Linked DNA regions of Homo sapiens: region 1 is linked to region 2. The links are contacts of gene promoters, found by promoter capture Hi-C in human tissues and cell types (Jung and others, 2019). All regions are on one chromosome and are shown on one strand. Each heading gives the region's core, a stretch centred on a gene start or on the middle of the fragment in contact. The rest is flanking DNA. Distances are from core to core; before and after follow the strand shown.

The links. The method cuts DNA at HindIII sites, captures the fragments that hold promoters and counts their contacts. A contact is called where the count stands out against the background at its distance.
Region 1: a fragment that was not itself captured here is called in contact with the fragment with the promoter of ARHGAP10 in region 2 in 1 of the 25 tissues and cell types used here (hippocampus).

The regions. Positions count from the first base shown.
Region 1 is chr4:148,908,213-148,912,945 of GRCh38, reverse strand. All of the region lies in intron 3 of LOC107986195 (a long non-coding RNA gene), which reads right to left. Among named protein-coding and RNA genes, the nearest start is that of LINC02430, 240 kb to the left of the region's middle. The HindIII fragment of the contact is 5,731 bases long and covers 1-4,733 here.
Region 2 is chr4:147,730,131-147,735,269 of GRCh38, reverse strand. ARHGAP10 (Rho GTPase activating protein 10) reads right to left here and starts at 3,182. Exons shown (of 23, transcript NM_024605.4): 1 at 2,815-3,182. The coding sequence starts at 2,968. RefSeq lists enhancers at 1,138-1,267, 2,396-2,465, 1,786-2,678, 2,679-3,571 and silencers at 2,576-2,655, 2,966-3,485. The HindIII fragment of the contact is 6,670 bases long and covers 1-5,139 here.

The sequences.
Region 1 (4,733 bases), core at 986-3,485, 1.2 Mb before region 2:
AAGAAGTGAAAGGTAGGAAGCCAGTGCTTTATTGATCTTGGGACTCCCTGCAGCACTCTCCAAATCAATAGAACAAATTGAGGCCTCAGCAATTGCATTTCTTGTGTTTATAAATGTGCAGACCCTAGGGCAAAATTTGGGGGGTATTATCGGTTTAGATTCAACAGAAGAGACAAAACAAAATATAACACTCTCAAATGTTGGCAAAAGTACCAACAAGGAGTCTCCTTGAGACTTGAAGATAAACTCATCTAAGACCTCTGCTCCTGGCTGCTATGCCCCTACCCCACCCTCTCCCACCTTGTACCTGGTGGACAAGAATCGCAAGGATTCTGGGAAACTCCTAGAGACTCCTGAGCTCTAACCCTTGAAAATACTTAGACTTACATTGTTTTAAGGTGACAGAGAACAGTACTAATAAGTGCTTATTTGGTTTGGACATCCCTTCTAAAGAATTAAATCCAAATTCTGTACCAATTATATTAAAACATTACCTTACTAATTTCAGAAAATTATAAGCAGATGCTCCATTTTCTGTACCTCAGTGGCTATCCAATTTCACAGCATTTCAAGACTTTTTAAAAGGTGGAGAGCTGCACATCATTTGTTCCTGAGATAACCTTTACAAGTCAGTCTCCCACATAAGCCTCTCCCTCGCTGGTAGGCAGATGCATTATGGAGAATTTGGCAAGGTTCAATCAATAACTGAAGTAATGCAGGAATGACACTAGTGTGAATACTGCTGGCTTAGATATTTCCTGTTTTTCATAAGGAACAAGTACCCACTATTCCTGTCATTTTAAAGGAAAGAAACAAGGACCATTATTTCCTTGGCTTAATATTAATATTAAATGGGTGCCCACAAAATGTTGTCAATGAAAATCTGTGTTTAAAGCGATAATATATTCTGGAATGCTTGGCTCAGAGTTTTCTTAAGAAACAGCTCCTAAAATAATGGAGTTTAGGACAAAATTTCTGAATATCTTGTAATCTTAAGACTAAAGGTCAAGGGGAGCCCAACGAGTGACCTGCCATGTCTTTAATGTGACTGACAAATTAACAAATTTGTGGCGATCACAGTTCACATCTTCATCATCCTCATTGATTGGATAAGGCTCGCAGATCACTGTTGAATGGAAGTCAAAGCATTTATTATTATAAATGCTCAGCTTCTGGGGTGCTGGCCTCAGTCACATGCCAATGTTATTTTAATAATTTTCAAAGTAGCATCGGTGTTTTGTTGTTGTTGCTGTTCCATAGGGAATTTTACTTTCTTTGTGGTCAGAAAACCAACCCACTGGATGGTCAAAAAGATTAAAATTTACCAAAGAAAGACATCATGTAAAGTTAAGTCATTTAAAAATTGACACAGAGCTGTGAGTTTGTTTTTATTTGCTGTTTTTCTTTTAGAAGATAACTTTTCTCAGAGATAAACAGCTAAAAATGTCCAAGTCAGCAATGAGGTTTCCTTGGGTCTGTTTGTATTTCAAACATGGCTAGCATGAAATACATAAATAAACAAATAAACAAAAAGAATCTGCTTATTCTAAATTGATGGGCAAAAGAGATGGTGGAAGCGCAGTAACGGATGATTTATAAGGTGACCCAGGATGTACCTTGGAACCTTGCTACCCAAGCTGTGATCTGCAGACCAGTAGCATGGGTGTCACCAGGGAGCTTGTTAGAAATGTAGAGTTTCAGGCCTCTCCTGAGACCTAGTGAATTCAAATCCACATTTTAACAAGAAGGATCCCTAGGTGTTTTTCTTGTATATTCAATTTATGAGAATTTCATTCTACAGTTAACGTTATCTGCAAGAAAAGCAAATATTTTCATATGGTAAATTAGAGTCATTTACTACCCTAAAATATCTAATGGGATAGCTGATGGGTCAGGAGAGCGGGGAGAGAATGCACATTCCTAGGTTAACTTATGACAATACTAGGCAGTTAGCAGAGCACATTTTGAAAAAGAGTTGAATTCCTCTTGTTCTAACTTTGCATACATCTATGCAGTAGCCATTAGTAGCTGATAGTTTTAGGCATACAGTTGATGGGCATTTACTTCTTTATTGTGTGTAAACATACAATGACTGAAAACAGAGAATCTGAGATTCTAAATTAGGATAAAATCCAAGTCAGCTCAAGGCTCTGGAGATGATCAGTAAATGATCACTGCAGAGGTAAAAATACCTGCAGAGGTAGAAAAATAAAAGGTAACTAAGATAAGGAAACAGGCTATACTGGTACAGTTCCTTAGCCAAAGTTAACTCAGTTTCACCAATTTTTTTGTCAAGTTAGGACTATAAGTAAACATCAAAACCACACAATACTTTAAGCAAAATGAATGAATAGTTATTGAGCATACACTTTTTGCTGGGTCTGATACCAGGTTCCAGGGTCTGTTTTTTTCTTTTAAATCTCACAGCAACTCAAATGAAAAATGAATTCTCATTCCCATTTCACTAATGAGAAAATGGTGGTTTAACAAGGATAAAATAATGGCCCAAGATTACAAAGCTAGTAAGTAGAAGAACTGGGGTTTAAAATTAGTTTAACCTGACTCTGCAGTCTCTCCCAATTATGGCATGGTGCTAAGTGTAGTTATTGTAAAAGTAAGTTATATGTTTAGTAAAATATACACAATTATTACAATGCTCTGATTTATTCTAAACCAAATGGTTCTTTTGTCTTTATATAGTCTTGAGTTAAAAGAAACTCTTCATATATTGTTAAATACAGATAGCTGAACTGGGTGGGCCACAAGTGATCATTCCAGTGAACAGTCGGGTACATGCAGTCAGCAGAACAGATAGATGGCAACCATTTTAACATTCTGCCTGAATCAGGCTGGTTTGCAATTGCATGTGCCACCCTCCAATTACAAAAGTATGTTCTCCAACACAATTTCAAAGGATCGTTAAAGTTCACCACATCAATATTACCCCCCTTTTAATTATGAATTTTCAGAGGAATTACCTTGAGGAAATGGGAGGTGGAACAATAGAGACCTTGTCATGTGTAGCCCACAAGAAATATGTATTGGCCCAAGAAATAGTGAATAATTTAAAGGTGATGAAAACATTTGTGACACGTGTGTTAGTGTGATGCACTAACTGGAGGCCTGAATTAACACCATATTTTTGGCTTCATGCCATAAATGACCAGTGGATGTAGCTCTGGGCTTTCTACTTTCACTTTAGTCAGGACCACTTAGCTTTTATCTGGTTCATTTATTAGGATTCCATGAAAAATTTGTTGCTGTTGTTGTTCACAGGGCTCTACTGCTTTTTTCAAAATTGAAAATGCTTGTGCTATCAATTAAAACTTCTCGTGTCATGGATGAAGACACTAAAAAAGATTCAGAACCCATGATTCTACTTCATGTGTGTCTGCTATATGCTAGGCACTGTGCCAGAGATTTTCACAGGATGTCTCATTTCTTTGTCTATACACTAAGAAACGAAATCTAAAAGATGAATTCACTTGCCTAGGCTATTCAAGTAGTGAAGACAAACTGAAGGCTAGAGGCCAGGTTTATTAACCACCAAATTCTATGCTTTTCCCAAAATATCTTATTGCTGGCGTAAAGATAAGACACCTTGGTTTTCCCATCTTAGTCCCAGGTTGGATAATTGGAATCTGTTTTCATATTCTGTTCTCTCTACATAAAGATTATAATATTGATAATCCATAGGGTTTATATGCTAGACATTTTTTCCAATAATTAAATACAGATGACACGGAGTCACATTGGTCTGTTTTTCCCTCTTCTGGCCAAGAAGACCAATTGGCAGAATGTTTAGTTGATATTCAAGCTGCCATTTTGACTCTGGGACTTTTTTTTTTCCCAATCCAAATCCGTACAGATATACTATGGGGTAGGAAATTCCTGTTATTTCACTAGACCAATTCCATAATAAAATGGGTAATAAAAAGCATCTTATCTTCTCTATATGGTTAAAACAGCAAATGTTAACAAAGCTACTTTGCTCATTTACCTCATATACGAGAAATAAAACATCATGTGAATGAAATTAAATATAGTCAAACTTGATCTATAAGCCTAATGTTACAATGGATTCATTTTCTTCACACTGTATTTTCTCATGTTTTTTTTCCCACTGAAATAGAAAGAAGATCAAGGTAAGAAGACAGAGGAGAGCGAGAGTGTCCTATATGGCCACCACTTGAGGTAGCAATTCTGAGATACAGATTAATGAGGAAGTATGATCCAGTCAATGTCATAAAGTGAACAGTGATCAAATTAATTATAAGCCAGTAAATTTCTGGCACATTTTTTTTCTTTAGTGGTACCATGCAGTTTAAAGGGATAAGATATTAAGAGAGAGGGAAAGTAGAGTTCTGTAATAGATAAAATATTAAAATATGGGCTTTACATTTAGGATTCCTTTTCTTTCAAGTTCCAGAATATTTAATACTTTGGGACCCCTCAAAAAATGGTTGGTTGGCTAATTTCTTTTTTTGGTTTTTTTTTTTTTTTTTGAGACAAGTCTCTCGCTCTGTCACCCAGGCTGGAGTGCAGTGGTGCGATCTCGGCTCACTGAAAGCTCCGCCTCCCGGGTTCATGCCATTCTCCTGCCTCAGCCTCCCAAGTAGCTGGGACTACAGGCGCCTGCCACGATGCCCGGCTAATTTTTTGTATCTTTTTAGTAGAGACGGGGTTTCACCATGTTAGCCAGGATGGTCTCGATCTCCTGACCTCGTGATCCA
Region 2 (5,139 bases), core at 1,933-4,432:
AGGAAGGAGTTCAAAAATGTTCCTTAGATTGAAGTAATTTCAACTACAGGACAGTAAACTCAAGGGCAAGGGCCTCTACCCCATTATAAATCCGTATCTAATTCCAGTATTTAGCAAATTATAGGTGCTAAATATTTGCAGATTGCTACCTAATTGAATTCAGCAGTAAGCCTTCAGGTCGCATAGGCCTCAAAACTCTAAATATTTATGGAAGACTTCAAAGCATCAAGCCATCAAAATTACATATTGAAATCTTCCAAGAATGTAATGCAAACAGGAGACACCGTGCAGGGCAATTAAAAATAGAAATCACTTAAATACACACTTCTCGAAATGCTCAAAAGGTCATTTTTGTAAAATAAAATATAAAATATCTGGAAATATAAATAATCTGACCTAGTGGGTTTTATTCTTTCTGTAGATCCTCCACCCAATGTCATCCCTTGACTCTCTGATGTTATACAAAAGCTCAACTGGTTAGATGAACCATTTACCTAGACTGCAGTTTCAAATAACCTCATCAAGCCATTTTCAAATGCTGCAGAACCTTATTAGTTCCCCTAAGAGGTAGACAGGGGAAGTTGGACGCAAAAGAATAAGACCTGCTCAATTTTCCTATAGCCACGCCCTAACCAGTGAAGAAGAATTAAATTCAGGTCCCCTGACTTTAGTCCAAGGCTCTTAGTCTTTGATAGGAACTAGAAGTAAACTTTATGGAGCAAGCGGGAAAAGGCATGTGAGCTACAGCTGTGTTCCTGTCACCTTCTGGGAAAGAATTTAAACATAAATTCTTAATGAACATAACGAGAAAAAAAGACACTTCCCAATTACTCTCAAAGCATGATTACAAGTTATGTTTCTTATGCTAAAGGACGAGAATCAAAATGAGTAAGATACTAATTCACAAATTCAAGAAAGTCTACAGTCTGGAGGAAAGCTGACATCTGGCCCCCCAGATGCACTGGCTGCTGCTGGAACCTAACGCATGTGTCCTGATGGCAGGAAAGCTAATATGCTGTCACAGAAATAGCTTTCTACCAGTGGCCAAACTGGCTTTGCCCTCTGCCTCTCTCCACACCTCTCTAGCTCCAGAGGGAACTACTACAACCAATGAGAGAGAAGGTACATTCTCCCGGCCACTGACTCTGGTTAACATCAAGTTACAGAAAGAGTCCTCAGTCCTCATTCTCTCGTGTTCACTCTGCACCCCCGCTCCCAACTCCTCCTTTCTATGCTCACTCCTCCATATGTATAGGCGCCCCCCTACTTCCCACCCAACACACATACCAGATGCCAAGGGCCTGGAGAGCCCTCAACCAAATAAGCCCACTTGTCACATGTCCCAGAGTCCCATTTCTGATTCAAGCAGCAGAGACTTAAAAACAAAACAAAAAAACCCTAAGTGAGTCCCAGTCCTGATTTTGCAACACCAAAGAGGTCAGAGAACCAAAAGGAACCTTGGAGATCATCCAGAGAAGTTGAGTGACTTGCCTCCAAAATTACAGGGATGGCTCACTAAATTCTTCCCACAGAAATGTACTTCAACTTATTCATTAAATGCATATTTACTGTACCAGGCACCATGCTGGGTGCCCGAGACAGTATAATCAATATGTTTTAATCGCCCTTACTGAAAAATGGGGCGGGGCGCGGTCGGGAGAACAGTGAGATGGGGGATTTTCCCCAGAGGTGGTATCTACAAACAAATGTACAAGGGACGAATACCTAAGGCTGAGAATTACTGAACTGAGAATCTAGGTGAGTGATGAAGGCCCTAAGAACCCAGCCCCTCAAGGCTGGATACTGCCCAAGTCCCTGTCTGCTGTATGGACAGGTCTTTTAAAGGGGGAAAGGGGACATTCACCGCCATCCTCCGAAGGGGTTATGGATCCAAGGGATGGTCAGGCTGCCCAGCTCCTCACTGGGGCTAATTCCGCCCCATTTTCCAGTAGCATCACTAACTCAGTATTTCTGCATGAATTTTGGCCCCTTCTCTCCTAGAAAGACTCTCCTCAACTACACTAAAATACAGTTATCTCTCCTGTATCTCGTGTCTTCTTCCGAGTTTAAGAGACAGAAGTTCAGGGGAGGAAGGCACCAAGCCTAACCGGGGTGGAATTCCCTATTTGCAAGCAGTGCCCGCCTAGGCTAGAGGGCAGGCTGTCCGCTCACCCTTCCAAACCCCAATCTTTGAACCCTCCTCAGCACGGCAGGGGAGGAATGTGCGGAAGCAGCATAAAGCCAGGTGGACTTTCTGGTTTGGCACGTGAAGGACCTGGAACAGGACTGTCGGGGAAGATCAGACAATGAGAGGGAAAAGGTGAAGCTTAAGGGGACTCTGGAAAACTCAACACTCCCGCAGGGTTTCAAAGAATCCCCAAGAAATTTCTTTTGAGAAGTCACAAAACAAAACTAGGCAAACAGATGCCTCGGTTTTGTAAGAGATTGTGAGTAGCTTTAGGCAGCAATGAAACCTGACTCCGGGCCAGGAGTGCCTAGGGTCGGTCCAGCGGAGCGCGCATTCAGCGAGGGGTGTTCGGCCGGGGCCAGGCGGGGCCCAGGCGGGGCCCGCTGGCAGCTGGTTCCCGCCGCCGCAGAGCCGCAGGGGCGGGAATGGGGACTCGCCGCGCTGCCTCGAGGAGGAATGATTCCAGGGACCCCCCGGGGTTCCGAGAGAGCTGGGCTGGTCCGGAATGAATTCCCCGTTCCTCTGGCTGCTGGCCCCGGACACAAGACCCTCCGTCTCCTGCCGAGAGAGGCTCCCCCAGCCGCCTCGCCACGCCGCAGCCCGTCCGCGCCCGCGTCCCCGCTTACTTTTCGTCGCAGCGATGAGGTTCTTCCCGTCCTTAATGAGCTCTTTGATGAACTTGTTGGTCCTCTCGAGTTCCGCTTCGTGAGCGCGGATCCTCTCCCGGAACCACGGGCTGTCGAGGTAGCAGTCGCTGAACTCCAGGGGCTGCAGCCCCATGACGGCAGCGGTCGCTGCGCGGTGCGCACGGCCGCGCGCTCCTGCCCGAGCCGAGCTCCGAGGCCGCTGCCAGGTGCGGCGCCGCGCGTTCAGGGAGCACAGAGGAGCTAGCAGGCCCGGGCGCGCGGCGAGCGCGGCACGGACATGTCCCGTAGAGCCGAGTCCTGCGGCGCGGAGGAGCTGCCACCGAGACCAGCGCTAGCTGCGGCGCCCCAATCCCGGCAGCCCCCGCCGAGCTCTGAGCGCCCGCGGCCCCGCCCCGCCCGGCCCCCGCGCGGCAGACACTCCCCGAGGCGCCACCCGGCCGGGCCCGCGCTCCCGCTCGTCCCCTTCTCTTTCCTCCGCCTTCCTTCTTCCTCCCTTCCCTTCCCTGGACGCCTCTTCCTTCTCTTCCCCACGCGCAGCTGCCCCTCCTCTTCCTTCCGAGGCGTCCTGGGGCTAGAATTTCGCCCCGCGGCTCCCCTCCACCCTGGGCGCTCTCCCCTCCCCTTTGCTTGGGCTCCCGGGGCCGGGGTGACTCACAGTCGGCTCCCCGCTGCACGGAACCCGACCGGGACCGAGAAGGAGCGTCTTAATTGCAGTCGTTAGTCCCCGCAGGCGGGCGACATAACTCTGAAGTGGCTGCCTTGCAGGAGATGATTAACTCATTTATCTCATTTATCCTGGGACGCCCCCAACCCCGAGCTGGGAACGAACTCGCACAGGGGGCTCTTTTCCTTATCCCGGTTCCTTTCCCAGTTTAAAGTGAGATGCGTGGTAAATCTCCGCTTGAGATCGAAGCCTTACAATGGCAAGAGCGTTTTCTTGGTGGCCCAGCAGCTCCTATTACACTTCTCTGCGTATCCGCACTAAATAACTTAGTTGAAGAGAGAGGGCTGGCTAAACCACAGAAAAGTTGTTTCTGTTGTGTTCAGCACATTAAATTTGCTGGGGTAGGTGAAGACGATCTTTATTATTCTAAAAATAACTACCGGAAAACATGCCAGGTAACGTGTGGTTTTCACCGCGTGGGGGTGACGATCAATGAGAATTTATGTCAGTGCCCTCAAAAAGCCTATTTTGTGTGTTATGAAACAACTCCAGTGTGTCCCAAAAAAAGTTAGGCATTTTAAAGTATTAAAATGTATACCTTAGGCCGGACGTGGTGGCTCACGCCTGTAATCCCAACACTTTGGGAGACGGAGGCGGGTAGATCACCTGAGGTCAGGAGTTGGAGACCAGCTGGCTAACATGGTGAAACCCCGTCTCTACTTAAAATACAAAAAGTACCCGGGTGCGGTGGCACGTGCCTGTAGTCCCAGCTGAGGCAGGAGAATCGCTTGAACCCAGGAGGCGGAGGTTGCAGTGAGTCGTGATGGTGCCACTGCACTCCAGCCTGGGCGACAGAGCGAGACAATGTCTCAAAAAAAAAAAAAAGTATTTCTTAAAAAAAAACACTAATAGTTCATTAGAGTAACGTTTCATAATCGCAATTTATTAAGCAATTATTATGTGCCGGGCACCCACTAGGAACTCCATACATCTACAAACTCGCGATATAGACTTACATGATATGATGGTAATATTAACGAGAAACTTCAAAGTAATTCCTCAAGACGTTCAGACTCTCAGCTGGGTAATTAAGAATCTGTTTGGACAGCATGTTGTAGGAGGGTAACCCTCCCGAACAAGTTAAATAAGCCTCCTACTCAATAAGCCCTTTTGTTACAAAACAGCACCAGGAGTGCCTAACCCACAGATAAACATTATTACTCTAATGTCCATCCTCCAGAGAGTTCAAAGTGTTTTACAAATAACTTTTAGGCGGTGAAAGCTTCAGTTCCTACTAAAACCAGCAGGAGACTGGAGTCTACAGAAAAGAGAATAAAAGAGGCAAATAAAGGGGAAGAAAGACAAGAAGAGAGGGGGTGTAAACAAAAATGAGGGCCTAGCGAAACAGCCAAGCACTGACCACACTCAATCCTCAGAGCAGAAACCCAAACCTTTTCTCATAGAGGGGCTGCTGAGACTTCTTCAATATTGAACATGGAGGTTACCGTGTGACCCAGCAAGTCCACGCTTAGATATATACCCAAAAGAAATGAAAATATATGTCCACGCAAATATTTACACACAAATATTCATAGCAGCATTATTCGTAATAGCCAAAAAGTAGAATCAACCAAAATGTC